Linked DNA regions of Homo sapiens: region 2 is linked to region 1. The links are contacts of gene promoters, found by promoter capture Hi-C in human tissues and cell types (Jung and others, 2019). All regions are on one chromosome and are shown on one strand. The core of a region is centred on a gene start or on the middle of the fragment in contact, and the rest is flanking DNA. Distances in the headings are between cores, read along the strand shown.

What was found. The method cuts DNA at HindIII sites, captures the fragments that hold promoters and counts their contacts. A contact is called where the count stands out against the background at its distance.
Region 2: a contact is called between a fragment that was not itself captured here and the fragment with the promoter of CREB3L1 in region 1, in 2 of the 25 tissues and cell types used here (dorsolateral prefrontal cortex and hippocampus).

The regions. Positions count from the first base shown.
Region 1 is chr11:46,276,033-46,279,272 of GRCh38, reverse strand. CREB3L1 (cAMP responsive element binding protein 3 like 1) reads right to left here and starts at 1,611. Exons shown (of 12, transcript NM_052854.4): 1 at 1,060-1,611. The coding sequence starts at 1,161. The HindIII fragment of the contact is 8,009 bases long and covers 1-3,240 here.
Region 2 is chr11:46,085,298-46,088,537 of GRCh38, reverse strand. The region is part of intron 3 of PHF21A (PHD finger protein 21A); the gene reads left to right. Among named protein-coding and RNA genes, the nearest start is that of PHF21A, 35 kb to the left of the region's middle. The HindIII fragment of the contact is 3,241 bases long and covers 1-3,090 here.

The DNA.
Region 1 (3,240 bases), core at 362-2,861:
CTTGACTCTTGCCTGGCCAAGTTTATCTTGGTCCTGGGAGGTAGAGGTCAGCAGGTAAAGAGTCTCAAGTGCTTGATCACAGGGTGTGTGTGTGTGTGTGGCGTGTGAACAGGCATGCACACGCAACTGGTGGTTCACTGAAGAGGGGGCTCCCACTAGACTCCCCAAACAATCCACATTTCATCTGGGCAGGCCCTTCTGAACCCAAATATTTTCTCCCATTCTAAGTCCGTGCCCCTCCCCCATCAAGGCCTTAGGGCTGAGCCTGAGAGAGGGAGGGAGGGAAGAAGAGAGAGAAGCCACGTTTCCTTAGGGAGGGAGGGGAAGAGTGAGAAAGAGGAGAAAGACAAGCTCACAGTCGGACCTAGTCAAGAAGACATAGGGAGAGGGAGAAAGTCAGCCAGACTCCAGGAACAGAGGGACAGAGCAGAGATCTAGAGGCAGATGGAGAGAAATGGCTCCCTCCTCCTGAGCCATCACCCTATGTTGCCCTGACCGCCTCTTCCCAGCCCCCAGCCTCAGGTCCCTCCCTGGGGTGGGGGGTCTCTGGGCCTGATTCCCTGGGGCTGCCAGGGTAGCACCCTGAAATTTCTGGGCCTGGCTTCCCCGAGGGGTCGGGTCTCAGGCCCTCTGAACGTTCCCCGGTGCGCCCCCCAGCGGAGATCCAGCCTATGAGCCACCGAAGCCCCAAGGGAGGCGCAGGAAAGGGCGCTGCCACTTTGCGCCCAGTCTGGTCCTGGAACCTGGGGTGGGTTGGGGACGGCTAGAAGACGTGGGTGGAGGGCGGGATTGGTGTCTCTTGAGCTCAGATCCGAGGATCGGACGGACCCGATACCTCGATGGCCCCTTCCCCCTAGAAGGTGGAGGCCAGTGTATTCAAAGATTGAGCCCCCAGGAGGGGCGCTTAGCTCCAAACACATGTCGCTCCTGGAGACCCTGCGCTGAACCCTCTCCCCGGCTCCTGCCCAGTGATGTGTAGTCGGGTCCTTCTAGGGGCCCAGGCGCGCCGCGAGGACGGGTGCCGAGGGGTGGAACGGGAACGGAGACCCTTCATCTTACCGCATTGTTGAGGAAGTCCGACTCGTTCAGATCCCCCAAGTCCAGGAAGCTGGATCCGGGGAACAGCCTGTCGGCCGGGAAGGGTTCCAAGACGGCGTCCATCGCAGCCGGCTCCCGGGACCCCCTTCCACTGGGCTTCCCTCACTCCAGGGCGGCGGCGCGCCCAGTCCAGAGCTCCTGCCTGAGCGCTGGCAAACGGGCGGGGGGCAGGTCCGGGGCGAAGCCCCGGGGGAGGGGCGGACGGAGGCGGCGCGGCCCCGGGTGGGGGGCGCGGGGCGCGCGGGGGCCTTAGGGCAGCGGCTAGGAGCGGGATGGGCTCAGGGGCCCCGGGCGCACCGTGGGCATTCAGCCGACTCCACCTCCTCCTGCTCCTCCTGGGGCACAGCTGGCTTCCATGGGGAGCCCGGGGTTGGGGCTGAGGGCTTCAGGAGCCCCCCGGACAGGGTGGGAGCCGGGGCGGGGGAGCTAAGTGCTCCCCCGAGACTGGGTGGCTGCCGGCCTCTCCTCTGTCTCTGCGTCTCCCTCCGCACGTCTTCTGTCACTTTCCTCTCTGTGAAACCGGGAACCCCTGGCTGGCTAGCCCAGCTGGCCAAGGCGCCACGCCCCCACATCAATATTCACAATAATTTAATATTAATGAGAAGAGGGCGTGGCTCGAGGAATCCTCTCTCCTTTTTTAAAGAGACATCTGCAACTTCGTCTTAGTAATCTCTCTTCTCTGAATGCTCAAGGTGGGGGCTTAAAGCAACAATAGTCCTGGAACCGATAACAGTGTTCCTGGAACATTGGCATTTTAAGGCTTCACCAACCACTGTCCCGTAAATTGATGAGGGAGCTATTTCCATCCTTCCAGCCTTATACTAAAGCCTGCACGAAACCCAGTCAGGGAATTCCATTTCACAGTCCCCTCAACAGATCTCCCCTCAACGGGGGAGATTTTCAGCTTTTTAAAAATTTTATTTATTATTATTACTATTTTTTTGACACGGAGTTTCGCTCTTTTTGCCCGGGCTGGGGTGCAATGGTGTGTTCTCGGCTCACTGCAACCTCCGCCTCCCAGTTTCAAACGATTCTCCTGCCTCAGCCTCCTGAGCACCTGGAATTACAGGCGCGCCCCACCACGCCCAGCTAATTTTTGTATTTTTAGTAGGGACGGGGTTTCACCATGTTGGCCAGGCTCCTCTGGAACTCCTAACCTCAGGTGATCCGGCCTCCTTGGCCTCCCAAAGTGCTGGGATTACAGGTGTGAGCCACCATGCCCAGCCGATTTTCAGCTTGTAACTCTCATTTCTCATCTCACCTGTTTCTTCTTCCAGGAAGCCTTCCCTGAACCCCCAGGCTGGAGCAGTTACCAACGGTATACACCCACAGGGCATCATGTGCTCACCTCCACTGTTTCCAGTCTAATGTGGTATTGTCCTTATTTGCTCACATTGTTTGTATCTGTGACCCCACTGAGCTGTGAGGCTCCTCAGGGCAAGGACAGTCCCCAGCTTCCCTCTGTGTGAAAGGGCTGGGTGAACAGCCAGAGATAGGAGAGTCCCCCTCTTCTCCTCGATAGTCAAGTCCCTCCCTACCCCCCAATGGTTCTGAAGAGCAGGAAGTTGGAAAACAGTGGTTCTGGAATCTGAATGAGCCAAGGTGCTGGCTGGCTGCACACTCCACAGTCACCAGACACTCCCAGGGCCCCGGGATCCATTACCTAAGTGGCTTGCTCCTGCGTACAAACTTAATCTCTTGAAAGGGCTGATAGCAATCGCCAAGCACCTGAACAAATGGAGGTGGTTCAGAAAGGCACTCCCTCAGAGGGCTGGGCACACTGTTTCCTGACCAGAAGTTATTAATAAGATTAAGCATGTCCTTTCTGTCTGGGACGTTTAATTAGCTCAGGAACCAAAGGCCTTTAAGAGGTAGAGATGTCATTGCAGCTAAGCCATGGATGTCACCAAAATTGCTCTCAGCACCAGGTGGGAGAAGGGTTCATACCAAGGCTGAGACAGCAGTTGTTTGCTTCCCTGGCAGGCAGGCAGTCACGTGGCTTTTCCCCACCTTATGATCTAGTTGACATAGTTCTGGAGAGTGAAGTTCTGACCTTCCAGGCTGTCACATGACTGTTAGCTCCCAGGCCTCCTGTAGAATTTGCTCCTGAGAAAGTAGGATTATAACCCATGCTCTGGGGAC
Region 2 (3,240 bases), core at 221-2,720, 190 kb after region 1:
TGGGATGGTGAATGTGCTTTCCAGATACCATGGCTGACCTTTTTAGTGGGATTTTATTATTGTTTTTGTGTGTTTGGTTTGTGTGTTTGGTTTTTATGTTTTGTTGTTGTTGTTGTTGTTGTTGTTGTTATTGGAAAGTTAGAGGCCATTAGATATCAGAATGGTTTGACATGTACCGTTTGGAAGATTGCAAATGCTAATATTTTGGGCTAGGCAAGTGGCCTTGCTGATAGTGACTTGTAGAGCTGTTGGATGGTGAGAGTCACTCATTATGGTGGAATGCAGTGTGTTACTGTCTTGTGAGTCTGATGGTATTCACTTTGCAGCAACTGATTTGTTATTTATAACTTGTTAGAATTGGTCAAAATATGTTAAATCATCTTTTACAAATGTAGCCAATAATTCTTTTGATGCTATAAACTGCCTCCCAGTGGTATTCAGATGACTGCATGAGATGTCCAAGACCTCAAAATATTTTTTCAGCTGGGTGCAGTGGCTCACACCTGTAATCCCACACTTTGGGAGGCTGAAGGTGGATGGGTCACTTTAGCCCAGGAGCTCAAGACCAGCCTAGGCAACATGGCGAAACCCTGTCACTACAAAAAAATACAAAAATTAGCCAGGTATGGTGGGGCACACCTGTAGTCACAGCTACTCAAGATGCTAAGGCAGGAGGATCACTTGAGCCCAGCAAGTTGAGGCTGCAGTGAGCCGTGATCGCACCACTGCACTTTAGCCTGGGTGACACAGTAAGACCCTATCTCAGGAAAAAAATTTTTTCAAAATATTCAGCATGTATTCGTGACCAGCCTGGGCAACATATGAGACCCCTTCTCTACAAGAAAAAATAAAATTAAACAAACAAGATTCAACATGTACCTGCCTTGTTTTTGTAAACTATAAATACATGTCTGTAATTTGTTTCTTTCCGCACAGACCAGTCTCTTAAAATTACTATCCAGAAAGAGATCTTTCTGAAGAAAAGAAAAAGAATTTCAAATGAATCTTCTAATCCTTCATATGTTTTTCTACAACTAGTCCTAACTTTTTTAACCCTTTTAGTTTTATTTTGAAATAAAATGAGTAATTGGCATTTAGAGTCCTTGCTGAATAAAACTTCATGCCTTTGTGTATCTCTGAGAAGCAGACAACAATCTGATGGAGAAAGTAAAAGCCATCGGCTCCTCATTAACTTGAGTTGCAGGCTTATTATTGTGCGAGGCACTCTTTGACATTTACAGTCTTCAAGTTAAACCCTGGTTTTAACTTTTTCTTTTCCTGAGCATTTTGTTTGATAGTATAATGTTTTCTGATGCTTTATCTACAAATCCTTGGTTAATGTCTTCTTGTTTAAAAAGATGTGCATATTTTTTATGGAAAATTTTGAAAATATCAATACCCCAAAAAGAAGAAAGTAAATAACTGACAGTGCTACTACCTAGAGATAACCATCAGCAAATTGCGAAGTGGCACCTGACACAAATTCTAGACAGCTCAGAGTATTATTATCTTATAGGTCTTCAGTTTGATAGACAAAGCATATAATCTTAGTTATATTTCTGTGTCTTAAAAGATGGAAGTTTTTCATGTTTGTTGGTCATTCTTATTTCTTCTGTAAATTGTTTTTTCATAGATTTTTGTTATCAATTTTTGAGGGCCCTAAATATATAAACTGTATTAGCCCTTTGTTATGTATAATGTTAAGTTCTTTGTGTTTTAACCTGCCGTTCATTTCCAGAGTTTATGTGAATTGAATTGAACTATGGTTTTATGTTACTGTCAGTAGAATGAAGTACGAATATTTGAAAAATACACCTTCAACTTCAAAGTGATTCTTGACAAAAATTATAAGGAATCATTTTGGACACATTTTCTGGTAGAGCCTTGTAAAAATTAAAACCAAGTGTTGTTTTCAAGAAGAACTGTAATACATAATCAGGAATTTGAGTAGGGAGATTATTTTGTTATTTAAAATTAAAGTGGCTGTGTAGTTTTAACTTTAGTATTGCAGGTAGAGTAAGCTTACATGATAACAAAAATCTTGGTCTTAGTGACTTAATGATTCTGATATTTATTGATTGATTGGTTATCATTCCAAATATTTTAAAAGATAATAGCTGGCTGGGTGCGGTGGCTCATGCCTGTAATCCCAGCACTTTGGGAGGCCAGGACGGGCGGATCACGAGGTCAGGAGATCAAGACCATCCTGGCTAACACGGTGAAACCCCGTCTCTACTAAAAATACAAAAAAATTAGCCGGGTGTAGTGGCGGGCACCTGTAGTCCCAGCTACTCAGGAGGCTGAGGCAGGAGAATGGCATGAACCTGGGAGGCGGAGCTTGCAGTGAGCTGAGATCGTGCCACTGCACTCCAGCCTGGGCGACAGAGCGAGACTCTTTCTCAAAAAAAAAAAAAGATAGTAGCTAAAACTACCCAGATTTGTTCACCATAGTATGTCTCCCTTTCTAAATTGTTAATAACTCCCTTAAATATACTGCCTTTTAAAATGTTTTGTTTAACATTATCATTATACAGTAAATTTTTCCTATCCTTTGCAAATGTGAATTTAAAGGAATTTTGCACTTTTGGAATTTATTCTTTTTTAGGTTTGAGTATTTTGATGTTATATAATCTAGTATATAAGCCCTGAGAGAGAGATTTCTGCTGATGTTTTATGCCTAATGAGAATAAGCAAATATATTGAAAACTCATATTCACAAGAATATACTCCCTAGTTAATGATTCCATTATAACTCTGTTAAACCAGTTTTCAAAGGACTCTTAGAAAACTTAGGTTGAATATAGACTGTACCCATAGGTAAATAATATTTAGAAATATGAAGATCATGAATCTTATTGTATTGGTTTAAGGAGTAGTGGTTCCTCTAACTTCCTGATTGTTCCATTCCCCAATTTATATGAATGCTAAAAAGCTGCTCTAGCTACAAGCTTTATAGGTGCAAAGAAGAAAAGAAATTTGAAGTAAAATTTAAATTTATTCAGGCAAAAACAGACTTTTGCTTTGACAGAGTACCTAAAATCATGTCTAAGGCCACATTCAAGAAAAGAAAACAACAATAAAGGATAAATTAGCCATCGAAATAATTTAAATTAGAGCAGTGATGACTGAGGGAGATAGGAAGGTCAAGCTGGGTGTCATATTAACAGATTTAGACTTTTGACATTATCTCCACATGCCATTATATGTATAGTCAAAGAGATGACTGGCAAGCTTGAAAGA